Regions from separate parts of the Homo sapiens genome. Here regions 1, 2, 3, 4, 6 and 7 are each linked to region 5. Evidence: promoter capture Hi-C in 16 types of primary human blood cells and fetal thymus (Javierre and others, 2016). All regions are on one chromosome and are shown on one strand. Each heading gives the region's core, a stretch centred on a gene start or on the middle of the fragment in contact. The rest is flanking DNA. Distances are from core to core; before and after follow the strand shown. Region 1 overlaps ARHGAP30 (Rho GTPase activating protein 30). Region 2 overlaps USF1 (upstream transcription factor 1). Region 3 holds the start of PPOX (protoporphyrinogen oxidase). Region 4 overlaps NCSTN (nicastrin). Region 5 holds the start of CD48 (CD48 molecule). Region 6 overlaps DEDD (death effector domain containing). Region 7 has its middle 3.3 kb from the start of NECTIN4.

Region 1 (3,838 bases), core at 558-3,057, 350 kb after region 5:
TGAGATTGCACCACTGCACTCCAGCCTGGGGGACAGAGTGAGATTCCGTGTCAAAAAAAAAAGAAAAAAAGCACATCTTAAACATAACCTCCAATTCCAAACCTTTTTCTTATATCTATATTATAATTCGCCACAGTCTTTGTTCTTTTTTTTTTGAGACGGAGTTTCGCTCTTGTTGCCCAGGCTGGAGTGCAGTGGCACAATCTCGGCTCACCACAACCTCCGCCTCCCAGGTTCAAGCGATTCTCCTGCCTCAGCCTCCCTAGTAGCTGGGATTACAGGCATGTGCCACCGTGCCCAGCTAATTTTGTATTTTTAGTAGAGTCGGTGTTTCCCCATGTTGGTCAGGCTGTCTCGAACTCCCGACCTCAGGTGATCTGCCCACCTCAGCCTCTCAAAGTGCTGGGATTACAGGCGTGAGCCACTGCGCCCAGCCATTCATGTTTGTATTATAGCACTTCTTGCAGTTTGTTATGATTAGTTTATTTTGTATTGATACCTCCTGACATATAATAACATCCTCCCAGCATCTGGCACAATGTTGAAACAGAGCAGATGCTCAATGAATGTTTGTGAAATTGTTGTGGGAAGTCAGGGACCCCAAATGGAGGGACCGGCTGAAGCCATGGCAGAAGAACGTGGATTGTGAAGATTTTATGGACATTTATTAGTTCCCCAAATTAATACTTTTGTAATTTCTTATGCCTGTCTTTACTGCAATCTCTAAACATAAATTGTAAAGATTTCATGGACACTTATCACTTCCCCAATCAATACCCTTGTGATTTCCTATGCCTGTCTTTACTTTAGTCTCTTAATCCTGTCAGCCAAGAAGGATGTATATCGTCTCAGGACCCCGTAATAATTGCGTTAACTACACAAATTGTACAGCATGTGTTTTTGAGCAATATGAAATGTGGGCACCCTGAAAAAAGAACAGGATAACATCAATTGTTCAGGGAATAAGAGAGATAACCTTAAACTCTGACTGCCGGTGAACCGGGCAGAACAGAGCCATATTTCTCTTCTTTCAAAAGCAAATGGGAGAAATATCGCTGAATTCTTTTTCTCAGCATGGGATATCCCTGAGAAAGAGAATGCGCACCTAGGGGTAGGTCTCTGAACGCCCCCCCCACCGGGGCGTACCTGTCTCTTATGGTCCAGATTGCAGAGGTGAAATAAACTCCAGTCTCCCATAGCACTCCCAGGCTTATTAGGAAGAGGAAACTCTCGCCTAATAAATTTTGGTCAGACCGGTTGATCTCAAAACCTGTCTCCTGATAAGATGTTATCAATGACAGTGGTGCCCAAAACTTCATTAGCAATTTTAATTTCGCTTTGGTCCTTTGGTCCTGTGATCTCACCCTGCCTCCACTTGCCTTGTGATATTCTGTTACCCTGTTAAGTACTTGATGTCTGTCACCCATACCTATTTGTATACTCCCTCCCCTTTTGAAACTCTCTAATAAAAACTTGCTGGTTTTTGTGGCTTGTGGGGCATCACGGATCCTACCAATGTGTGATGTCTCCCCTGGATGCCCAGGTTTAACATTTCTCTCTTTTGTACTCTGTCCTTTTATTTCTCAAGCCAGCCGACGCTTAGGAAAATAGGAAAGAACCTACATGATTATCGGGGCAGTTCCCCCGGTATGAAATGACTCAGTGAATTAATCAATTATGAGAATCAATAACATCCCTTGGAGATTTAACAGAGAATATTGCCAGTGACAGAATACTGGGTTCTATTAACTAGGACTCATCAGAGCAATTCGTCTCACATATCAGTGTCAGAAAAAGCTGTGTTTGGCATGGCAGCTCATGCCTGTAATCCCAACAGTTTGGGAGGTCAAGGCAGGTAGATCACTTGAGATCAGGAGTTCAAGAACAGCCTGGGTAGCATAGCAAGACCTCATCTCTACAAAAAACAAAAAATTAGCAGGGCATGGTGGCTCACACCTGTAGTCCCAGCTACTCAGGAGGCTAAAGCAGGAGATTGCTTGAGCCCAGGAGTTTGAGGCTGCAGTGAGTGATGATGGCACCATTGCACACCAGCCTCGGCAACAGAGTAAGACAAGAAAGAAAGAGAAAGAAAGAAAGAAAGAAAAAGAAAGAAAGAAAGAAAGAAAGAAAGAAAGAAAGAAAGAAAGAAAGAAAGAGAAAGAAAGAAAGAAAGGAAAGGAAGGAGAGGAAGGAGAGGAAGGAGAGAAAAGAGAGAGGAAGGAAGGGAGGGAGGGAAGGAAGAGAAAAGGAAAGGAAGGGAAGGGAAGGGAAGAAGGGAAGGGAAGGGGGAAAAAGCTGTGGTTCTCCTAAACCATCTAACTTTTTTTCCTTATGGGCCCATGAGTCTTGCACTTGATTATGTTTATTTATTTATTTATTTTGAGTTGGGGTGCATTCAAGCAGTTCTGGTGCCTCAGCCTCCTGAGTAGCCAGGACTACAGGTGCACGCCACCATGCCCTGCTAATTTTTATGTTATTTAGTAGGGATGGGGTCTCACCATGTTGGCCAGGCTGGCCTCGAACTCCTGACCACAAGTGATCTGCCTGCCTCGGCCTCCTAAAGTGCTGGGATTACAGGCGTGAGCCACTGGGCCTGGCCTATGTTTACCTCTTTAACCACTAGGAAGCTCAGAGCCCACCTCTAAGAACCATACAGAACAATGTAATATGCATTTCTGGGTGCTGATCTTTCTCTTCCTCTTGTTTTTCCTTCAACCCAATTCCTTCAATCATTTATTCTAATTTTTTGTAAAGTTTTAGGTTTTGAAAGTCATTCCAAGCTCTTTGTTGAATAAAGTATGACAGAAATATGGAATGAAGAAAATAATCAATAAATTCATCAATCCCAATCTTTCCTTTTTCTTTTTTCTTTTTCTTTTTTCTTTTTTCTTTTCTTTTTTTTTCTGAGACGGAGTTTCACTCTTGTTGCCCAGGCTGGAGAGTGCAATGGCGCGATCTCAGTTCACTGCAACCTCCGCCTCCCAGATTCAAGAGATTCTCCTGCCTCAGCCTCCCAAGTAGCTAGGATTACAGGCACCCACCACTCTGCCCGGCTAATTTTTATATTTCTAGTAGAGACAGAGTTTCTCCATGTTGGTCAGGCTGGTCTCAAACTCCCGACCTCAGGTGATCCACCCACCTTGGCTTCCCAAAGTGTTGGGATTACAGGCGTGAGCCACTGCACCCGGCCCCTTATTTATTTATTTATTTATTTATTTATTTATTTATTTATTTATTTGAGACAGAGTCTCACTTTGTTGCCCAGGCTGGAGTGCAGTGGTGCAGTCTTGGCTCACTGAAGCCTCAGCCTCCCGAGTAGCTGGGACTACAGGCGCACACCACCATGTCCAGCTAATTTTTGTATTTTTAGTAGAGACGGAATCTCACCATGTTGGCCAGGCTGGCCTCAAACTCCTGACCTCAAGTGATCCACCCGCCTTGGCCTCCCAAAGTGCTGGGATTACAGGCGTGAGCCACCATGCTCAGCCAACCAAAATCTTTCAACTCTCCTCATACGACCTGGCTTTCAGACCCTTCATCCTCCTGCACACCACAGCCAGGAGTTGGGTGGGATTAGGGAAGCATCTAGTGTGCAAAATTTAAGGAAGCACTTATTCTCAGGGCCATGGAGATGCCAACCATGCCCATGCACGGTCTTGAGTACCTCCTTGAGAATGAGGCATCTAGGGGCCTGGTGTGGTGGCTCACACCTGTAATCCCAGCACTTTGGGAGGCCGAGGCGAGTGGATCACCTGAGCTCAGGAGTTCAAGACTAGCCTGGCCAACATGGCAAAACCCCGTCTCCACTAAAAAGTACAAAAATTAGCCAGGCGTGGTG
Region 2 (3,441 bases), core at 942-3,441, 330 kb after region 5:
GAAGAGCAGCCCCAGACTCACTGCCTGTCCAGGTCTTAATGATCACTAAGAGTCATGAGTGAAGGCTCACTGCCTACCAGTCATGTCCCACAGCCTATTCTAGCCCTTTCAGCCAGCATCCTCATGCAATATCTCACCAGTGCCAGGAGGGGTCGCCTGCCCCAGCAGTGCCTCTGAGCCCTGGGTAGTAACAACAGCAGCTGTACTCCCCGATGTGGTACCCCCTGCCCCATCTCCCACTGCCGTGCTGGGGAAGTAAGTATAGTGCGTCTCAGCAGCTGTCCCCTCCGTGTCAACTGCATCATCACTGGTGAAAGCACCCTGGATCACCGCCTGGGAAGGGGAGCAAGAAAACTGATTCTGGTAACAGTCAAAAACTTCTTCCCACTACACCACTCTGCAGCTTCTATCCGTTGGGGTGGTAGGTAGGGTGGAGAGAGAGAGAGAGAGAGAGAGAAACATCCAGAAAAGGAGAGCCTAGTGCTTTGGGACAAGGCAGCCTTAGATGCCTCACTGTTCCTAGCTTCACCCCCATCCTACTGATTCCCTTCTTCATCTTACTTCTCAGAACTCTAGTGACCTCCCCAGCCCATACCCTGTACCTGGGTCATGGATTGAGTGGCAGGGTAGCCACTGATGGCGCCAGTTCCCTCAGTTTGGCCATCCAGCTGCCCCTCAGACACCTGGATCACCCTGTACATCACCTAGAAGTGTAGAGGAAGGCAGAGGGAGTGAAGAGAGAAGAAAAGATTAAGTGTTGGGAATCCTAGGGCCCCTCATAAAGCTTCCCTTGGATAGGGCCCCAAAACAAAGTCCTTCAGAGACATGGATTCAGCCATTCTCCCTTCTTTCCCCACACAGAGGTTTCAGCATACATCTAACCTCACACCAGTCTCTACTCCAGTATTAGCACCTCCCTCCCCTGCAACAGTCCACTCTTTCAACTCATCCTCCAAGCCAGGTCTCCCCAAGACATGTTCAATTACCTCCCTCAATCCCAACCCCAGATAACACCTGCAGCCACCTGGCCCCCTCCCTTACCTGGCCCCCATTCTCAGTTCGGAAGACGTACTTGACGTTGGGGTCAGGGAAGGTGGCAGCTGACTGGATGCTGGCAATAGCCACACTGGTTGGGTCTTCCCCAGTAGCCACTGCACCTGAATTAAAAGAACAAAGGAAAAGTCTGTGAGTTAACTGCCTTTCTACCCCCGTTCCATTTGCATGTCACGGAAGGAGGAGGATGCACAGGAGATGGTCTGGTGGGGAAGGAAGGGAGGCCATGATGGGTTCTTAGTCTTGGTTCTGTTTCTAGCACTCACCTTCCTGAATCTGCACTGTCCCCTCTTCCGTTTCAGCTGTTTTCTGCTGCCTGTTTGTGGTGAAAGGACAAAAGGAAGAGTATGAGAAGAAGTCAATGAGAAGCTCACTGGCCCAGTAACATATGGCTGCAAACTCATTGGCATTCCCAACAGAAGCTGGGTTAGGTTAGAATAACAACTAGTGTTTACTGTTTACTATGTACATAAGCACTAAGCTAAGTACATTACATGTAATCTTATTTAGTACTAAAAACAGCACCACGAGATAGATAGCACTACTTCCATTTTATAGATAGAGAAACCAAATCACACAGTAAGTGATAGAGTAGAACCTGAATCCAGGTCTGCCTGACTCCAGAGGCAGTGCTCTTGGTCATTTTGCATTCTTCCAGGCCACCCATCTTTCATCCCAGACCCTACCTCTTCTTCACTCACCCCTTCATCTCTCTGTGAGGGGGCACATCCGAGGAACTGGTCCTTTTTTGGAGGTCTTTGTATCTCCTGATTCACAGGCCTGAGTGCTAAGTCCTGGTAGAAATCATGAAGTTTGCAATGAGTTTAGGAAACAGAACAGTATCTCTGGTTCTAGAACTTAGGTTCCATGAACACATAGCCAGGAAAATAACCCAGTCATCTGCAGGGGACAATCAGCCTCCACCATACTGATGTTGAGGACTGGCCTACAGTGATTGAAAAAGCAAGGCTACAAATAGTGTTCCCCATCCCTCCATTATCACTCCAACTCCTGGTGGAGAGTGGATAATTATACTGGAAGACAGAAACAACACTTTTTTTTTTTTTTTTTTTTTGAGACAGAGTCTCTCTCTGTCACCCAGGCTGGAGTGCAGTGGCGCGATCTCAGCTCACTGCAACCTCTGCCTCCCAGGTTCAAGTGATTCTCCTGCCTCAGCCTCCGGAGTAGCTGGGATTACAGGTGCACACCACCACGCCTGGCTAATTTTTGTATTTTTAGTAGAGACGGGGTTTCACCATGTTGGCCCGGCTGGTCTCGAACTCCTGAGAGCATGATCTGTCCACCTCGGCAGCCTCCCAAAGTGCTGGGATTACAGGTGTGAGCCACTGCACCTGGCCGAAACAACACATTTCTTTCTTTTTTTTTTTTTTTTTTCTGAGACAGAATCTTGCTCTGTCACCCAGGCTGGAGTGCAGTGGCACAATCTCGGCTTACAACCTCCATCTCCTGGGTTCAAGTGATTCTCCTGCCTCAGCCTCCTGAATAGCTGGGATTATAGGTGCCCACCACCACGCCCAGCTAATTTTTGTATTTTCAGTAGAGATGGGGTTTTACCATATTGGCCAGGCTGGTCTGGAACTCCTGACCTCAGGTGATCCGCCTGCCTCGGCCTCCCAAAGTGCTTGGATTACAGGCATGAGCCACCGCACCCAGCCAACAACACATCTCTAAATGGATCATTAAAGCTATTATGACCTGCCATGATGGCAGCTTCATGGGAATCAGGAAGGGCCATGTATTGGCCCCACCATCAAAAAATACAGTGTCATGGACACTGATGCTTCTTCCAGTTTCTCAGCCACATGTTGTCCATCAAGACATTTCTGTTTTCAAACCTAGGAAGAGGAAATCTGAAGCCCACTACCACTGGAAGAATATCCCTGACCACAAAGACTAGACTTGGCATTTGGGCCCCATTCTACTGACAGGACTCTTGTTTTGGGGTATCCAGATTTATATAATCTGTTAGAAACCCTAAAGCCCAAGTGGATCCTCTTCAAGCATTCTCTATTTTATTCATCAAGCCTTCCTGCAGAACAACACTGTTGCTAAAATGTTGCTATGACAACTCCAAATCAACTAAGCCTGAGCAAGAAGGGGTAAAAAAAAAAAAAACAGGGTTCTGAAGAAGAGACAAAGGGGGAAGAATCCACCTACAAGCTCTGCCTTAGGACCCTGACACCCAGCCAGAGGGCAGGAAAAACAAAGAGCTGGGCAGACATGCCTCCAGAAAGAAACAGCTACACAGTACAAAGCAATAAGATAATCCCAACACAAAAGGGGCAAGATTTTTGGAAATTCTCTACCCATAAGGTCCTCCAAACCTTTCCTATCCAAGGAAAATTTTCAATGGATAAGCCTCGGAAA
Region 3 (3,856 bases), core at 530-3,029, 450 kb after region 5:
ATACCTCCCATACATTCTCTTTCCTCCATGTTTCCAGAGAATTGAATTTTCCTTAGGAAAAGTCTGCCACCCACTTTTCCACAAGATGCTCCCAGTGTGTCGGGAGTGGGGAGAGGACAGCTTTCAGGATAGAAGAAGTTCCCCTCAGAGGCCCACTGCCTCCCAAATGCTCCTTAACCAGGGCTTAGATCTGAATCGATTTTCTGCCTCCCGAGGCTCCATCAAAAAAAGTTCAGTAGGTGTAGACTTTCCACTGCAGCGACTGAGCCTAGGGGACTTTGCCAGTGACAAAGCCGGTGAGTCTGGTGGGGAAAGTCCTAAGGAGCCAAAGGAGTGGGGGCACAGCTCTGATTATAGAACTTGATCATCTCCAACCCCGCAGGAAGTCCTGTATACCAGCTGTATGCCCTTTGCAACCACTCAGGCAGCGTCCACTATGGCCACTACACAGCCCTGTGCCGGTGCCAGACTGGTTGGCATGTCTACAATGACTCTCGGTGAGAATAGCCTCCTATTTACATCCTGCCCCATTCCCACTCAGCCCTGACACCCTCCCCTTCTATGAAGCTCCAGGAGAGCAGAGTGCCAGGTGAAAGGAGAGGTGGAGGTCTTGCCTGATCATTTCCTGGATGCTCTGAGGTTCGGTCTTGTAGGGAGAAGGGAGTAAACAGGAATGACCACAACCCTTTCCCGATCTCCTTTTTTCCTAGTGTCTCCCCTGTCAGTGAAAACCAGGTGGCATCCAGCGAGGGCTACGTGCTGTTCTACCAACTGATGCAGGAGCCACCCCGGTGCCTGTGACACCTCTAAGCTCTGGCACCTGTGAAGCCCTTTAAACACCCTTAAGCCCCAGGCTCCCCGTTTACCTCAGAGACGTCTATTTTTGTGTCTTTTTAATCGGGGAGGGGGGAGGGGGTGGTTGTAGCTCCATTATTTTTTTTATTAAAAAATACCCTTCCACCTGGAGGCTCCCTTGTCTCCCAGCCCCATGTACAAAGCTCACCAAGCCCCTGCCCATGTACAGCCCCCAGACCCTCTGCAATATCACTTTTTGTGAATAAATTTATTAAGAAAAAATGATGTGCTTATTTGTATTTTTGCTTAGGGGGTGATAGAGAACTGAGCCAAATTGGAGTCTTCTTGGGACCCAAGTTCCCTCTCTAACAGGTGGGGGCGCTCTCAGAGCCGAGGGGGAAGGTTTCGGGGATGGTGCTGGACCCGGACCTGTGTCCCCCAGCAGTGAAGGTTATGTACTGGGAGGAAAAGAGGAAAGGCATACTTGAGTGAGGCTGCGTGCAGGCTCTGGGGCGACTGGTTTGGTCGGCGATGGGGGAGTGCCACTGTTGACAAACACTGGGTACGTTGCCGGGCGGCCCTAGCTCCCGTAGGCCCGGTCTGTTGCTAACATCAAGGAGCTGTTTATGGAGCCGCCTCCCCGTGGACTGGCCTTAAGTGTCCCTATCTATTCTCCCTACGACCAAAGCTCCTGCGGCCTTCCCTCTAGGGTTGTCACCCTAGCTGGACCTGGTAAGCTTGTGCTGGGGAACGCTAACTCCAGCATTAAGCGCTCGCCGCCTCGGTCCTGAGGAGGGCAGTGACGGGTACGGCCGCTCACTCCCAGCTCGGCGCTAACACGGTTAACCTCCAGCTCTTACAGCTGCCGTCGCTCCGCCTCTGCCAGTTCAATGTTTTATTGGTGAACGTGATCCGGGGCCTTCCAAGTCCCGCCAATCCAGATGTAGGAGAGGTAGGGTTAGGCGCGTGCCGCGAGAACAGAGTGGACGGAGCGTAGGAGAGACCGAAAAGGCTGGGGGTGGGAGTAGCGGATTTGAAGCACTTGTTGGCCTACAGAGGTGTGGCAAGCAGAGCACCTCAGAACTCAGGCGTACTGCCCGCCGCCCGAGCCCTGCGAGGGCCGATAGCGAGGGTGTGGCCCTTATCTGCACCCAGCAGAGCGCCGGCGGGGTACGGTCTTAGGACCTCGATCTCCTTCTCCCTCATTTTCTCTCATCCCTACCTATTGTGGGTGAGTCCTGGCCCCTGGACGGGGACCTCGCTGTTCCACCAGCCCATCCGTGCACACTTAGTTTCCCCTAAAGCAGTGAGTGGCCGGGATAGAACTCAAAACCGGCGGGGCTTCTGGAGCGCAGGTTGTCCCCGGTCTGCCTGTCCATATCGCCCCCTTTCCCCCAGGTTTCCGCATGGGCCGGACCGTGGTCGTGCTGGGCGGAGGCATCAGCGGCTTGGCCGCCAGTTACCACCTGAGCCGGGCCCCCTGCCCCCCTAAGGTGAGTGCTCCACTTGTGCCAGAGGGAGCTTCATTTAATGCTCTTCCCATTTCCATCAAAAGCTAGATGGATCCTGGCCCTCTGAATATGCCTCTTCCCCTCCCCTCCTGACCTCTCGCCGGCGGCTACAGGCGGTGCTGCAGTGTCTCTCCCTCTTGTCGCCAGGTGGTCCTAGTGGAGAGCAGTGAGCGTCTGGGAGGCTGGATTCGCTCCGTTCGAGGCCCTAATGGTGCTATCTTTGAGCTTGGACCTCGGGGAATTAGGCCAGCGGGAGCCCTAGGGGCCCGGACCTTGCTCCTGGTGAGAGGCTTGTGGGATGTCTAGGAGAGGTTGTGGAGGGGGCTTCCATTGGGGAATAGAGTTTAGGGGAGGAAGTATGTTTGGTGGGTCAGATCTTCCCTTAGTTTCTCCTCTTCTGAGGGCATGTGGAGAGCAGGTTTCTGAGCTTGGCTTGGATTCAGAAGTGCTGCCTGTCCGGGGAGACCACCCAGCTGCCCAGAACAGGTTCCTCTACGTGGGCGGTGCCCTGCATGCCCTACCCACTGGCCTCAGGTAACACCAGCACCTCCGCTCCTTTTACTGTGCCCTCATCCTCATATGCCTTCCATTTCTTTCTTCTTTTCTTTTTTTTTTTTTTTTTTTTTTTTTTTGAGACGGAGTATCGCTCTCGCCCAGGATGGAGTGCAATGGCGCGATCTTGGCTCACTGCAACTTCCGCCTTTCGGGTTCAAGCGATTCTCCTGCCTCAGCCTCCCGAGTAGCTGGGACTACAGGTGCCTACCACCACGTCTGGCTAGTTTTTGTATTTTTAGTAGAGATGGGGTTTCACCATATTGGCCAGGCTGGTCTTGAACTCCTGACCTTGTGATCCGCCCGCCTCGGCCTGCCAAAGTGCTGGGATTACAGGCGTGAGCCACCACGCCCGACCTGCCTTCCATTTCTTCATCTCCCTGTCAGCCTTCCCAGCAAAAGGAAGCCAAATGAGTGGAAATGACCCCAGCGCCTGGAGCTGGGGAGGTATGTCAGGAGCTTCCCCCTCACTATGCCTTTCTCCATGCAGGGGGCTACTCCGCCCTTCACCCCCCTTCTCCAAACCTCTGTTTTGGGCTGGGCTGAGGGAGCTGACCAAGCCCCGGGGCAAAGAGCCTGATGAGACTGTGCACAGTTTTGCCCAGCGCCGCCTTGGACCTGAGGTGACACTTGCCCAGAGGCCCCAAACCTCTTCCCTCCTAAACCAGCTGCAGAGCTCCCTGTTCAAATCTACCACCTAGGGGCTCTTCTGTATCATTTGGGGATGCCCTCTTCTCTTCATACCCCACCCCCTCATAATTCCCAAAACTCATTATTGGGAGTGAAGGCCTTCATTTCCATCCGTCACAGTGGGAATGTCCCCCAACCCAAACCCTATCCCACCCTCATTCCCTACCAAATAGGGGCTGTGGAAATCAGTCAGTGTAGATTATTTTTTCGCTCCTTAGTCCTAGTCTCACCCTTAAGGTGGCGTCTCTAGCCATGGACAGTCTCTGCCGTGGAGTGTTTGCAGGCAACAGCCGTGAGCTCAGCATCAG
Region 4 (3,872 bases), core at 21-2,520, 360 kb before region 5:
CTCCTGTCTCAGCTTCTTGAATAGCTGGGATTACAGGCGCGTGCCACCGTGCCCAGCTAATTTTTTGTATCTTTAGTAGAGGCGGGGCTTCACCATGTTGGCCAGGCTGGTCTCGAACCCCTGACCTCGTGATCTGCCCGCCTTGGCCTCCCAAAGTGCTGGGATTACAGGCATGAGCCACCATGCCCAGCCCTCTGGACTTAGTTTCTGAACTGGTTTGTAGGTAGAAGAGAGCTAGGTCCAGGGTGGGCTGAGATCAGACTGCTGGTCTTGCTGGAACCTCACTATAAAGTACAGAAGGCCAGGACCCCAACCTCTTGTAACTAGGCTCTAAGAAAACTCCTTTGGGAATAAGTCATTCTACTCTATGTTCTTAAAACAGCTCTGTAGGAAGCAAAGCCTCTAGAGGTAAAGCCACGTGCCAGTACAGAGAAACAAGAGGGGGTAAGCGGGACTGTGGCCACTTCCTCATTAAGATCTTGGTTCCTTTTCAACCTACTTATTTCCAAATCTTACTTCGTCATATCTGTCTTTTCTGAGCAGGCTCCGCCCTTTTTAATTAGTGTAGCTAACATGATAAAACTAAGGAGAAAAAAGTGATACCCAGATTTGATTTCTGATTATAATACTCTGCTTCTCTTAGACGCTTTAAAGTTCTCAAAGGGGGCTTTAAATAGGTTTCTTTTCCCTCCCTCCCTCCTTCTATCCTTTCTTCCTTCTTTCGTCTGTCCCCACAGTATGAGATGAATAGAGGTAGAAAACCTCATTGAAGGCGCAGAGAAAATAAGCAAGTTACTTAAGACTACACCATTACTAGTTGGAACCCAGATTAGAATCCAGGTTTTTTTCAGTCCAGTATCATAGTTTGTCTTCCTGTCCTCGCTGGAGTTGAAGTTTTGGGGTGTGTGTGTGTGTGTGTCAGAGTCTCACTATGTCACCCAGGCTGGAGTGCTGTGGCACAATCTCAGCTCACTGCAGCCTCCGCCTCCCAGGTTCAAGCAATTCTCCTGCCTCAGCCTTCTGAGTAGCTAGCATTACAGGTGTGCACCATCACACTTGGCTAATTTTTGTATTTTTAGTAGAGATGGGGTTTCGCCATGTTGGCCAGGCTGGTCTCAAACTCCTGACCTCAAGTGATCCACCCACCCACTTCGGCCTCCCAAAGTACTGGGATTACAGGCATGAGCCACTGTGCCCGGCCGAAGTTATATATGTTTTAGTTGCCACACTATCTGTTCCTTTTCCCATGTTTTAAATGCTGTGGCAAGGGCCGGGCATGGTGGCTCACTCCTGTAACCCTAGCACTTTGGGAGGCTGAGTGGGCATTTAAAGTGATGCTGATATACAGCCAGGGCTGAGAACTACTGGTCTAAAATAATTGATGAATAACATATCCAATTTTCTGTAGGGAGAAGACTCACAGGGAGACCCTAGGATATCTCCACACAGATCACTGGGGACTTAAGGAGTATTACCTAATGCCTTGAATTATGTAGAATTCAAAGTATTCTGGACTCTGGGTCATCCATCCTCTAATACAGTGCTTCCCAATCTTTATCATGTCATGAGACACATAGAAAATGTTATTTGTATAGCATCCTGGCACATAGAGAAATGGGTGATATTTTCAGGGCATCCTGGGGTAAATGATAAGTAGGCTCCTGGCTGGAGGTGACTTTGGAAACCCTAGGTTTCCTGGAATGAGGAGAACCAATGAGAGCACATCTCTGATCCATTCGAGGCTTATCAATTGGGAAGCTCTGTTTTAGAAACCTCAGAGTTCTTGACTAACCTCATCTAAAACCGGCCAGAAGCAAGTAAAGTCATTCCCAAAAAGGGCAAAAGGAATGACGATCCAGGAAAGCTCCTGAGGCCAAGGGCATGTATGCATGTGTTTTTACAAAGGAAGATTCAAAGCTAAAACCCTGAGCTAGAGATTTAGTGGCATTTCCTAGAGAAAATATAGGTTTGAAAACTTTGGTGTCTATTGTTGTAGAATCTTATGTATATGGCTAAATAAGGTTGAGGGCAGAGGGCAAAAAAATGAAGTTCACAGAACCTTTCTGGCATATAATGAGTCCTCTTGTGCTCTTTTATATTCCATTCCCTCCTGATAACCTTCAGATGGAGCTGGGGCAACAGCTTTTCAGTTCAAATCTAGAGGTGCCTGTATTCACCCAAATATGTTGTGACATCTTTAGGGGATAAAAGATACGCAGAATCAGTGAGGCAAAGTCAGAATTGTTAACTATGGGAGCTTTAATTTGACTCATTCTGTCCTGGCAGCTTCAATTAGTGGAGACACAGGGGTTATCCACGTAGTAGAGAAAGAGGAGGACCTACAGTGGGTATTGACTGATGGCCCCAACCCCCCTTACATGGTTCTGCTGGAGAGCAAGCATTTTACCAGGTAAGAACTAGATGTATCTGCTGGGAAAACATCCATAGAGGGAAAGTTTCAGTGAACAGTCCTCACACTTATTAGTGAAAACTTCCCTTGGCTGCCCTGGTCTGGTCAGGGGAGAGGGCAGGGTGGTCCTCAGAAGGAAAGGTGTACCATCAAAAGAAATGATCTTGAGCTTAGGGCTAAATTTCACCTACCTGTCCCTGAGTAACCCTGGGCATCCCTCCCCTCCCTCCCTGGGGTCCTTACTCACTAAAGCTCTACTTTTTAGAGCAGATCATTGTCCAGACTCAGAATTTAGAGACTGAAAGGGAAGAAATAAGTCAACAGTTTGATTCCCCTAGTTCCCCATTTGTTTCCATCCTGCAGGCAGAATGTCAGGCTGTCTGATACCTTCCTGTGTTCCTTCATGGAATTCCTTTCCTATTCCAGGGATTTAATGGAGAAGCTGAAAGGGAGAACCAGCCGAATTGCTGGTCTTGCAGTGTCCTTGACCAAGCCCAGTCCTGCCTCAGGCTTCTCTCCTAGTGTACAGTGCCCAAATGATGGGTTTGGTAAGTGTCCCAAAGGATCAGGAGAGCCTACTGTCACCTAAGGCTCACTGTTGCTTCGGTCTTACGTCTTTGTGAGGGATGTATATGTGTTTGTGTCTGTGTGTAGTGTCAGTAACTGACTCCCAAACAGGGGGTAGTGTTTATTTGTCTTTGCTGCTCATCCCTTCCCTCTCCTGCTTCCCCTTCCTTTGCCTTACCTGGCATTATCTCTTTTTGTCACGTGTTCACATCCCTAATCTTACAGCCTAAGACTCCCTGATACCATTGTCTTTCTATTTTAGTGTGGATGGTAATAGACTTCATGCCTACTTCTTTGAGTCACCACCTCCTTTTGAACTCTTAGTCCCAACTGAAAGATTCTTCTGCCGTCACCTGGTTCCTAAGTACTTGGTGTCCCAGTAACCAGTCCCCCTATTCCCCATCCTTCCCTTCAGGTGTTTACTCCAATTCCTATGGGCCAGAGTTTGCTCACTGCAGAGAAATACAGTGGAATTCGCTGGGCAATGGTTTGGCTTATGAAGACTTTAGTTTCCCCATCTTTCTTCTTGAAGATGAAAATGAAACCAAAGTCATCAAGCAGGTAATGACACTGCCAGCTCCTAGCAATTCCAGTTAGAAAGAAGATTATTTTTCTAGCCAGGTGTGGTGGTGTGTGCACGTAGTCCCAGCCACCCGGGAGGCTGAGACAGGAGGATCACTTGAGGCCGGGAGGCAGAGGTTTCAGTGAGCTGAGATGGCACCATTGCACTCCAGCCTGGGTGACAGAGCAAGGCCCTGTGTCACAAAAAAAAAAAAAAAAAAAGGATTATTTTATAGGCTCTCCTATTTGGAGGGTGGCTCATTCTTCTGGTACACCTGCTGAAAGACGGTTGCTCCAAAAAGAACCAAGACGTTAGTTCTTCTCACATTCTTTC
Region 5 (3,451 bases), core at 827-3,326:
GTCCAAAAGGAAGTTTTTTGAAGTTGTTCATTCATTTGTGTAACAATTATTTATTGAGCACATGCCACACTCCAGGCCTGTGCTAAGTTCAGCAGCACAACACTGCACATGGTTTCTGTCCTCAAAAAGTTCAAGGAAACAGATGATCCACCAAGCAATTCACAAACCATAATCTGGAGCCTGAGGTTCCCATCTAACCATGCCTTCAGAACACAGTCACAGGCAGACAGTCCAAGAAGAAGTCACATAAAAACAGAAGCCTAAAAGAGAGGCAGGGAGAGGGCAGGAGGGAGAGAAATCTAGGTGGAAAGAAGGCATGTACATAAGCCCAGAGGTAAGAGAAAACGCCTCTTTTAAGGCAAACAGTAAAATTAAGAGATTTAGACACATTGACCTTCACCAAGATTCCCTCGCCTTAGTCTAGGAAAGGTATAATCATAATAGAATGGTTTGGAAGTTAGACCTGTGTGCCCTTAGGAGAATTTCTTAATCTCTCTGCAAGACAGTATTCTCATCTGAAAAATGTAGATAATAATAGCCACCTCACTATTTTCTAATGAAAGTTAAATGAAAAAGTATGCAAAAGGCCTAGCACAATGTCTGACACACAGTAAGTGCTTAATTTGTATTTTACTAACCCAGGTTATAGCCCGGGTGTTATAACCCAGGTTTACTAACCTCATCAAAACCAATATTATCCATTCAAAGGATAACATAATCAGGTGTGGTCTGATTGTTTCAAAGAAGAATAAATGACCAAGATGAAGCCTAGAAAAGAAGTCAGAGAAAGGTCAACTGTCAGGATGTTTTCAGTATGCCTAGAGAAAGTCCTAAAATATTCCAATTCTCATTGGCAACCCTGCTTTTCCCAATAGTTAGATGAATACTTCACATCAGCCCCCAATCCCAAGGTCATACCAATGTCCTATGCATTGAGTCAGGCCCACAGAACCTATATAGCCGTAGACTCACACAGTCATGAACCAAAGGACTCTACCTGAGAGGTAGAATATGTGAGAGACCGATCCTCCACACATTCTACCTCATCTCCCCAAAAGTTACAAACTATCATCATTTTATGCCACAGTGTGACTACCACATGTTTGTTGATTTTTACTGTTTTACTCAGAGTGGTGAGCATTAAAGCCCTTTAAATTAAAAAGACTTGAGTATTTACTTGGGGGAATAGCAAGAAAGTCAAAGGTTTCACTGCTGTTTCTCAGCTGGCATAAGAAGAGAGGTACTGGATGAAGAAAGAGGGTGAGGCAGCTCTAACAGGAGAAGGAAAGTTAGCTCAGCCCTTGGTCACACACCGGGGACCGAACAGGCTGTGGCAGAGGAATGGACCTTAACTCTTAGCAATCAGATGTGTTAAGGTTCCTTTGATGCTGAAGCACTTCCAGCCTCTTCTCAGACCCTCATTCAGAGACCCCAGACAGCAATCCTTTCCAAGCTTTTCTTCCTATAATTTTGATCTATCTTTTCTTTGGGTCAATGACAATATCATTTACCTTGGCTCAGGATGCAACACCTCACATATACAGAGGTCTCAAAGAATGCCTAAGGGAGTACAGTGTGTCTGAGCATAAAATGCAGCAGCTGTCAGTGTAGAGCTTCTTCTTATTCAAAATGAAAAAACAAACACTTTTCCACAACTTCATGGACCACCAACCACGGGACAAAATATGAGGAGCCTACTTCTCTTGCTCCCCAGGTTCCTGTTTTGATCACATCCCCGTGGGAAAGGAGATGAAGCTCCATTCATCAGTGCTAAGAAAGGCTCCCCAACCATGCCATGGCCATGCTATTGGAATGGAAATACCTGCTTTCCAGACACCAGATCTGGCTTCTAGGGTTGAACTACATCCCGTCTCCCCTTTCCCAACTGACCATGCCTTCAGTGCACAATCACAGATACACAGTTGGTGGAAAGTACCTTGAATGCTGGTCACCAGGAGTGACAGAGGCAGCAGTAGCAATTCCAGAGCCAGACACGAATCCCAACCTCTGGAGCACATGCTTCCTTCCAGAACTTCCCAGCAACGCAGGAGACAGTTGAGAGCCTGGCTAGAAAAAGGCCGGGGCTAAAAACGGAACTTACCAAACAGGGTTAGAGAGAAAAAAAAAAAAACCACTGAGATTTTCTCTCCACCCAGCACACTTGTGTGGGGCCCCAGAAACCAGAAACCGGAGGTCTTGTAAATTTTTTTATCTAAGAGCATCACGGAAACTGAGAACAATTTTGTTTGAAGGTACATGAGTGCTTTTTTGTAGGGGGAAGATTCATAGCTTCTACTGTACTCTCAGGGGGGCCAGTACTCAGAAAAGAATAAGGGACCCTGATAGAGAATGTCTGCTTTTCGTTCCCAGGCAGGAATCCCTCTGATTAATTCAGGGGCTAAGACATAGGAGCTTCCCAGTCAAGCCTGGGTAGGTGTCATTCAGAGCCTGAAGTCTGGGAAATCAGACCCACGTAGCCTTTGTGCTGCATATCTTACCCCCAGCACCACCCTCTGCTCTTCTTCCTTTATGATAATTCACTATTTGAAGTTTGACATCAGCCTATCCACTGAACATCAGAAAAAAAGTAAGATTACTTGGCCCAAAAGAATGGATTTCCCACCCTTGTAGTCTGTATTAGTCTGTTCTCACACTGCTAATAAAGACATACCCCAGACTGGGTAATTTATAAAGGAAAGAGAGGGGTTTTGTTTTGTTTTGTTTGTTTTGGTTTTTTTTTTTTTTGAGATGCAGTCTCACTCTGTAGCCCAGACTGGAGTGCAGCAGTGCAATCTCAGCTCACTGCAACCTCCACCTGACAGGTTCAAGCAACTCTCCTGCCTCAGCCTCCTACATAGCTGGGATTACAGGCAAGCACCACCATGCCCAGCTAATTTTTGTATTTTTAGTAGGGTTTCACCATGTTGGCCCGGCTGGTCTTGAACTCCTGACCTCAAGTGATCCACCTGCCTCAGCCTCCCAAAGTGCTGGGATTATAGGCATGGGCCTGTGCCTGGCCAGGAAAGTGGTTAAATTGACTTCTAGTTCAGCATGGCTTGGGAAGCCTCAGGAAACCTACAATCATGGTGCAAGGGGAAGCCAATACGTCCTTCTTCACACGGTGGCAGGAAAGAGAAGCACTGAGCAGCAATGGGGAAAGCCCCTTCCTTATGAAACCATCAGATCTAGTGAGAACTCACTATCACGAGAACAGCATGATGGTAACTGCTCGTATGATTAACTTACTTCCTACTGGGTTGCTCCCATGATATGTGGGGATTATGGGAACTACAATTCAAGATGAGATTTGGAAGGGAACACAGCCAAATCATATCATGTCTAGGAAATTTCAAGCTCATTCCTATTGAATGTAAATTAGTTATTTGCCCACCCAGGACCCACAGGCAAGCCACAGTTCCTGATATAACATATTTGTAATCACTTTTTAATT
Region 6 (3,426 bases), core at 824-3,323, 410 kb after region 5:
AAGAACCGATGAGACACTCAAGGGCAGGAACTAGTCTCATGCATTCCCATATTCCCAGTTGCTAACAATGCCTGGCACAGTATAGTGCTTTATACATGTTTATTAAATTTTTGAAGTGTTTGTTTAAAAATAAACACTGGCCAGGCACAGGGGCTCACACCTGTAATCCCAGCATTTTGGGAGGCCAAGGCAGGAGGATCACTTGAGCCCAGGCGTTTAAGACCAGCCTGGGCAACATAGGGAGACCCGTTTCTACAAAAAAAGAAAAAATTAGCTGGGCTTGGTGGTACACGCCTGTAGTCCCAGCTGCACAGGAGGCTGAGGTGGGAGGAAGGCTTGAGGCCAGGAGTTCAAGATCAGCCTGGTCAACATAGCAAGACCCCATCTCTACAAAAAAGAAAAAAATTAGCAAGGCATGGTGGCATGTGCCTGTAGTCCCTGCTACTCAGGAGGCTGAGGCAGGAGGATCACTTGAGCCCAGGAGTTCAAGGCTGCAGTGAGCCATAATCCTGCACTGTAGCCTGGGTGACAGAGTGAGTCCCCCATCTCGGAAAAAAAAGAACTAGTTTAAATTCTGACTGTATCACTGAAAGGCTGTGTAGCTGTGTGACCGTAAGCAAGTCACTTAACTCCAGATTCTCAGTGCTGTCATCTATAAACAGGGATGAATGAATATACACCTCAGAGTTGTTAAGAATCCAATGAGAAAATCACGGGTAACCCTTATATAAATGGTTGTGAAACATTTCAAAGATACAAGCATCCTTGGCCTTTGCAGCCCAGAATCATCCCTCCACATTTTTCCTACAATCCAACCACATCAAGAAATGATAACTGCTCAGAAAGTTTATCAATATTTACCAAAACTCATGGATTTAAAATAAACATTAAGTTTCTACAATAAGCATTCTTGTAATTCTATGCCATTTGTACTCCCTTGATCTTCACCCTATTTGGCAATATCAACTTTTTTTTTTTGAGATGGAGTCTCACTTTGTCACCCAGGCTGGAGTGCAGTGGTGCAATCTCGGCTCACTGCAACCTCCGCCTCCCAGGTTCAAGCAATTCTCGTGCCTCAGCCTCCCAAGTAGCTGGGATTACAGGCACGCACCACCACGTCTTGCTAATTTTTGTATTTTTAGTAGAGATGGGTTTTTACCATGATGGTCAGGCTGGTCTTGAACTCCTGACCTCAGGTGATCCACCCACCTCGGCCTCCCAAAGTGCTGGGATTACAGGCGTGAGCCACCGTACCTGGCCTTGGCAATACCACCTTCTAAGCTTTCCTCATGGATGTCATTTACCAATCCCCTATCAATGACCAATCACAGCTCCACATTCGTTATATAGTTTGGCTCTTGATTCACAAAGTTCCTCCATCGTTATGGGCTACAGGTAATACCAATGACGCAGCCATTAATCAATTCCCAAATTCAACAACTTTGACTCAAGTCACTCATACTTACTGCTCCACCAGACAGTACCATCCTATACTGTGCACTCTCTGGTCACACTCTCCAATCACACAATCAATCCTAAATTCCTGTTAATGCTACTTCTAGATATTTCTTAAATCTATCCTACCTTTCCACCTCCACTGCCATGGTTCAGATTACAATAATCTCTCACCTGGACTACTGTAACTTTAAAAGTTCTCTGCAACACCAATCTTAACCTACCTAAATCCATCCACTGCCACATCTAGTTCAGTTAGCTGTCTGAAGTCCACAACTGACCAAGTCACTTTCCTGCTTCAGACCCATTGATTGCCCCATCGTTATCTATAAGAACACTCCAAACTCTTTTTTTTTTTTTTTTTTTTGAGACAGAGTCACTCTGTCGCCCAGGCTGCAGTGCAGTGGCGCGATCTTGGCTCACTGCAACCTCCGCCTCCCAGGTTCAAGCGATTCTCCTGCCTCAGCTTCCCGAGTAGCTGGGACTACAGGCACCCACCACCACGCCCAGCTACTTTTTGTATTTTTAGTAGAGACGGGGTTTCACCATATTGGCCAGACTGGTCTCGAACTCCTGACCTTGTGATCCGCCTGCCTCGGCCTCCGAAAGTGCTGAGATTACAGGTGTGAGCCACCACGCCTGGCCGAACACTCCAAATTCTTTACACACACATCAAGCCTTCTAAGATCAGGCCTACCTTCCCAACCTCATTTCCCATCACATCCGCTTTTTATTCTCTAACATTATCAGTTTGTTTATAGTTCACATACATCATGCAATTTCTCTATACCTTCTTCAGGCTCTTCTCTTTGCCTGAATGCCCCTCTCCCTTCTCTATTCCACACCCCCATCATCACTCTTTTTCAGATGGCTAACTCCTACTCATTCTTTAAGAGTCAGCTCAGATGCCATCTTCAAAATGCATTTTCTACACCCCCATGCAGAGATAAGTAGTCCTCTTCTGTGCGCTTATGGAACACTATGCATATCTCCTTTACACCATTTATCACCATGTACTAAAATTATTTGTGTATTTATTATCCCATTAGATCCTACTCAACTCATGGAGAGATATATTCATCTTTATATCCCTAGTGCCTAGTAATGGACAGAGCCTCAAATATAGTGGGAGCAACCCACTGTTGAACTGAACTTAATCTCCAAGAGATCACCTCAAGCAATTCCAATTAAGAAACAAATTCACAAAAGTCCAAGAGAGGACCCCATTAAAAACAGATACAGGTAATTCAGTTACCATGCATATATTCTAACTAGCCATAGCCTCCTCTGCAATGTCCAGAACTACCCACACCATACCACACCACTCTACCCTACTCAACAATTAAACAGGTTGCTCTGTCCATTTTATACAAAAAGGAACTGAGGCTAGACTAGGAAACAATAAAATAATAAGCTTCTTTGGAAAAACAAAGCTGATAGAGAAAGCTGAAGAGTAAGTAGGAACTGGTCCTTTCTTCCTCAGATGAAAAACTAAAATGAAAGCACAGAGAAACTCATTCCCTTAAGAAAAGGGGAGGTACACTCTGGGATCACTTAACCCTATACCATGGGTTCTGATATGTAGACAGGAAATGTAATCCATATATAGTTTTGAGAGCCCAGATGCCCCACCCAAAGCATGGGAAATAGCTATTCAACTATAGACTGGTATTCCTTGCCTCTTCCTCTCGATTCACCTGTTGCTGTTACTGGGTACAAATGAAGGTGCTAAAGGAAAATAAGTTATTGCTCATAGCAGGCAACATGAGAAAACTGAGCCTCCTCAGAGCCCCTGCAACTTCTCTTTGTTCCCTATCCCACCTGTTCCCTTGGGCCAGCTGTTGATTGTGAGGCTCTCAGATAAAGCAGATTGGGTAGGTTTCACATTAAACCAACCAGAAGAGCTGGTTGCTCCACAGTTCCCTAATTTAAAGTGTGCTTAAACCCCAGGAAATGAAGAAACACTGTCCC
Region 7 (3,802 bases), core at 704-3,203, 380 kb after region 5:
AAAAAAACATCGATTGAGGCCTGCTGTGTGCCAGGAATTCAGTAAATGTATTAAATTGCGGGACAGGACAAGAGTTGTAGCCTGTGAACTCCTTGAAAGTTGGGCTTGTTTTATAATCTTGTCTCAGTCTTCCATGCTAGGACAGGCCACAGCATTTCATGGGAACTGACTACATTTTGGTGAAGCCATGAATTTCTGAATAAATGAGTTGTCCGGATGAAAAGGATGGTGAAGTCGGATCAGTAAAGCAGAGATCCCGACTGGCTGTGAGTTACTATCCTGAACTAGGGTTGTGACCTGGACTTTACTCCTGTCACTGGACTATGACCCCAACTCTGGCTCTAGATGCCAAATGACCACGGCAGTGACCTCTTCTTCAGGGGCTATTTCCTGCAGGTCAGAGGCCCTTAAAGGCCAGGCCGGTTGCCAGAATTCCCCAGTTTCTCTCCACCTCCAACCCCTTCTCTTTTTCAGGTCCCCACCTGTGCCAGGGGAACAGCCCCACCCAGATGCTGCTTTGAGATCCTCTGTGGCAGGGGTGGAGTAGGGCCAGCGGGAATGGGAGGGGGAGCATCCTGTGTTATAATTATAATTATCACACCTTGGATCCTATCGCATGCTTTCGGAGGAGCTGCTTTCCTTCCCACGGATTCACCCCTCCAGGTACAGGAAGCCACAGGAGAAACTGAGGCACAGGAGTGGAAAAGCAGTTAGTTCACAAGATGGATATCCAATCTCCTTCAGCCTATCCATTCACAGTATACCCCGTGAAAGTGCTACCAGTCAGGATGTCTCTGAACCCCTGGTTGGGCCCCTTAATCACTCACCCTGAACTCTAGCCATACGGAGCATGGAAAGGAGGCAGAACTGTCCAGAGGTGGAGTTAGGGTATGGCTATACTCATTTTTTCATGGGTATGATGCAGCCTTGAAGTAGGCTAAGGGCACCACAGGGCCTGAGAGGGAGCACTAGAGTCCAGCAGCCCACTCCAGGCCTTTGACAGAGTTAGGGATCTCTCTCCTCATTTCACAAATACCTATCTCAAGTCCCTCTGTCCCCTCCTTCCCCTCAGCCCTGTATGTCTCACAAGAGCCATGCTTTTGGAGAATATGCCCTCAAACTTAGGCCTTTCCTACCCTCTCCTAGGATGAAGGCTGGGGAAGGCATATTCTAGGATTGAGACTGGAAGGAAATATTGGATGAGGAAGATTTTCAAGACCAATGCCTGGTATCCTGGTTCGGTTCTCCCTTCCATATTGAATTCCCATTCCCCACATGCCTCACTCCTACCCTCCTCCTACCCACATTGTGGTCGCTAAGAATGAGAACAATTCAAGCCATGATAGTGTCTTTATCATGTGTGTTTGTCTGAGTGACATTGCTGCGTGCGCGCCTGCACCCATGCATTCCTTCAACAGACATTAAATGAGTGCCACTATGTGTCAGGCTCAAGGGAGGAGACCGAGACACATAACACATAGTCCCTGCCCTCAAGGAGCCTTCAATCAGGAGAGGCAGACACAGAAACAACTGTAACATGCTATATCCCACCATCATGTGTTCCCTACGTATCTCTGTACACATACATGCTATGCACATATGTGGGACTGTCTCTGTATGCACAGCAGCGGATGTTCTTCATGATCTGCATGCATCCAAGCATCCGCTTATACCTGTCTCTGTCCCCATGACAGGCTGCACGCCTCAGCCAAACCGGTTGGAGTGGGTTGTGCTGAAATTTTTGTTTGTGTCAATGGGACTTGAGGTGAGTCAGAGAGGGACAAGGATGGGTGGGGTGGTGTGGGGGAGAAGAAGAGTGAGAGTGAGGGTCAGATTGAGTGGGGGAGGGAAGGAGTGGGCCCAGGTTGGAAGGGGTGGGAGTGAGAGTGGGGTGCAGGAGGATGAGTTGGGGGTAGGAGTAGATGAGAGAGCTCCTTGGTGAGTAATATCCTGTCTGCCTGCAGTGAAGTCCCAGGTCAGAGAAGAGTCAGAGGCTGGGGGAGAGTCCCTTGTGCTTAGGGAGAGAGGAGGGTGAAAAATAAATCAGAGTGGAACTAGTTGGAAGCATGAGAGTGGATAAAATATTTGTGATCCATTTCTGTACAGCTTTGTCTCTGTGATAAGCTATTCCTGATCTGCTCATTGCAAACTTTCCGCAGTTTGTACAGAAAGGTGTTGGGGAGCTGATGACGTGGTGAAAGATTACCAATATGGGCCTTGATCTCACCCCCCAGGACCAAGGCTTCAAAGTCACTCCTCCTGCTCCTCCCTAGGATCACCCCTGCTCCATCCCGGGAGGTATGGGCATACCCCCATACAGAACACAGGGGCTCCAGCAGCTTTTCTTCCCCTAGAAAACACCTTTACTCCCCTCCTGATGGAACTTCACTATGCTCAATATTAGGATGGTGGCCTCCTGTTTTCTAGAAAATTACATCAAAACATTGCCATGTGCTATGTTGTTCTTTGCCTATCCTGCAGGCCCACCGATTCCCCAATACCCAGCCCCCAGCCCCATCCTTTAATGATAACCACATTTCTTGGTTGCCTAACAACCCTTGGAGATCAGGGGGCTGAATTTGCTTGTTCCTCGAGGGCCCTAAAGCTGGAGTGTGCCATCCAGGGGAGGAGGCAGCTAAATGCAAGACATGTTCAGGTCCCGTTTCTCGGTAGGTCCAGTTGTGTGCAGAGCCCCATCCTCCTTGCTCTCAACCCATGAACTTCGCAAGTTTCCATGAACACACTACCATGAAATCCAGGACCACAGTATGGGTTAAGGGACAAATATCTTTATTTTGACACTAAGACCCCACTGTGGGGAAATTCTACTCCCTGAAAAGGCCCTATGTATTGAAGCTCACTCAGGTCTTCATCAAAAATTGAGACCTTATGACTGTGCCCGGGGACCCCAAACTGGTGCTATAGTTCTAGAAAGCAGCCAAAGGGAAGAAGTCTGGCCACTTCTGGAAAGTTCTAAAGCTCCTTGCAGGAAAGTCAGATGGCTGGCTCTGGTCAGCAGGAAAAAAAGGGCAGTAACCCAGAGAGAAAAACACAAAAGTCGAAACAGTGAGAGACAGATCTCAAGGCACAGTGAGAAAAATGGAAACTTAAAGACAGAAAAATATACAAATGCTCCTTGACTTTTATGATGGGGTTATGTCCTGATAAGCCCATTGCAAACTGAACATATAAGTTGAAAATGCATTTAATATACCAGTCGCTAGCCCTAGAAAATATCAAAATTTAAAATTCAAGTATGGGTCCTACCGAACACGCTATCATTTTTGCATCACTGTAGTTTAAAAATTATAAGTTGGGTTGGGCATGGTGGCTCACACCTGTAATCCCAGCACTTTGGGAGGCTGAGGTGGGCGGATCATGAGGTCAAGAGATCGAGACCATCCTGGCCAACATGGTGAAACCCCGTCTCTACTAAAAACTCAAAAAATTAGCTGGGCTTGGTGGTGCGTGCCTATAGTCCCAGCTACTCAGGAGGCTGAGGCAGGAGAATCACTTGAACCCAGGAGGCGGAGGTTGCGGTGAGCCAAGATTGTGCCACTGCACTCCAGCCTGGTGACAGAGCAGGACTCCGTCTCAAAAAAAAAAAAAGAAAAAGAAAAAGAAAAATTGTAGGTTGAACCATTGTAAGTCAGGGATTGTATTGGAGACACACACACACACACACACACATGCGCGCGCGCGCCCGCGCGCGAGTTATTGAAGGGGGAGAATTCAAAGAGACAAAGTGGCTGAAGTGGCCAAGACAAAATCTGAAACAGAGACAGAAGGACCCGAAGAGAAA

Evidence for each region. The method cuts DNA at HindIII sites, captures the fragments that hold promoters and counts their contacts. A CHiCAGO score of 5 or more calls a contact.
Region 1: a fragment that was not itself captured here is called in contact with the fragment with the promoter of CD48 in region 5 in 1 of 17 cell types (naive CD8 T cells); the score reaches 5.2 in naive CD8 T cells.
Region 2: a contact is called between a fragment that was not itself captured here and the fragment with the promoter of CD48 in region 5, in 11 of 17 cell types (fetal thymus, naive CD4 T cells, total B cells and 8 more). The highest score is 17.8, in fetal thymus.
Region 3: a contact is called between the fragment with the promoter of PPOX here and the fragment with the promoter of CD48 in region 5, in 1 of 17 cell types (erythroblasts). The highest score is 5.5, in erythroblasts.
Region 4: a fragment that was not itself captured here is called in contact with the fragment with the promoter of CD48 in region 5 in 1 of 17 cell types (activated CD4 T cells); the score reaches 5.8 in activated CD4 T cells.
Region 6: a contact is called between a fragment that was not itself captured here and the fragment with the promoter of CD48 in region 5, in 9 of 17 cell types (naive B cells, total CD8 T cells, activated CD4 T cells and 6 more). The highest score is 9.1, in naive B cells.
Region 7: a contact is called between a fragment that was not itself captured here and the fragment with the promoter of CD48 in region 5, in 10 of 17 cell types (total B cells, naive CD4 T cells, non-activated CD4 T cells and 7 more). The highest score is 8.2, in total B cells.

The regions. Positions count from the first base shown.
Region 1 is chr1:161,062,677-161,066,514 of GRCh38, forward strand. All of the region lies in intron 1 of ARHGAP30 (Rho GTPase activating protein 30), which reads right to left. Among named protein-coding and RNA genes, the nearest start is that of ARHGAP30, 5.3 kb to the right of the region's middle. The HindIII fragment of the contact is 5,541 bases long and covers 1-3,838 here.
Region 2 is chr1:161,041,514-161,044,954 of GRCh38, forward strand. It overlaps USF1 (upstream transcription factor 1), which reads right to left. Exons shown (of 11, transcript NM_007122.5): 2 at 1,755-1,847; 3 at 1,320-1,369; 4 at 1,042-1,157; 5 at 603-704; 6 at 138-333. The coding sequence starts at 1,762. Among named protein-coding and RNA genes, the nearest start is that of USF1, 2.7 kb to the right of the region's middle. RefSeq lists enhancers at 244-403, 3,264-3,441. The HindIII fragment of the contact is 2,818 bases long and covers 783-3,441 here.
Region 3 is chr1:161,164,647-161,168,502 of GRCh38, forward strand. PPOX (protoporphyrinogen oxidase) reads left to right here and starts at 1,780. Exons shown (of 13, transcript NM_001122764.3): 1 at 1,780-2,026; 2 at 2,194-2,288; 3 at 2,454-2,588; 4 at 2,725-2,840; 5 at 3,349-3,481; 6 at 3,786-3,856. The coding sequence starts at 2,202. It overlaps USP21 (ubiquitin specific peptidase 21), which reads left to right. Exons shown (of 14, transcript NM_001014443.3): 12 at 189-296; 13 at 383-497; 14 at 711-1,077. The coding sequence ends at 801. RefSeq lists an enhancer at 2,835-3,498. The HindIII fragment of the contact is 28,112 bases long and covers 1,531-3,856 here.
Region 4 is chr1:160,346,713-160,350,584 of GRCh38, forward strand. It overlaps NCSTN (nicastrin), which reads left to right. Exons shown (of 17, transcript NM_015331.3): 3 at 2,287-2,410; 4 at 2,837-2,958; 5 at 3,393-3,538. Among named protein-coding and RNA genes, the nearest start is that of NCSTN, 5.3 kb to the left of the region's middle. RefSeq lists an enhancer at 106-155. The HindIII fragment of the contact is 5,933 bases long and covers 1-3,872 here.
Region 5 is chr1:160,709,746-160,713,196 of GRCh38, forward strand. It overlaps CD48 (CD48 molecule), which reads right to left and starts at 2,077. Exons shown (of 4, transcript NM_001778.4): 1 at 1,937-2,077. The coding sequence starts at 2,018. RefSeq lists enhancers at 2,326-2,505, 3,046-3,105. The HindIII fragment of the contact is 2,140 bases long and covers 1,452-3,451 here.
Region 6 is chr1:161,124,542-161,127,967 of GRCh38, forward strand. All of the region lies in intron 2 of DEDD (death effector domain containing), which reads right to left. It also overlaps a transcript of NIT1 not described here. Among named protein-coding and RNA genes, the nearest start is that of DEDD, 6.4 kb to the right of the region's middle. The HindIII fragment of the contact is 1,588 bases long and covers 1,280-2,867 here.
Region 7 is chr1:161,090,974-161,094,775 of GRCh38, forward strand. No RefSeq gene overlaps it. Among named protein-coding and RNA genes, the nearest start is that of NECTIN4, 3.3 kb to the left of the region's middle. RefSeq lists an enhancer at 1,803-1,902. The HindIII fragment of the contact is 3,929 bases long and covers 1-3,802 here.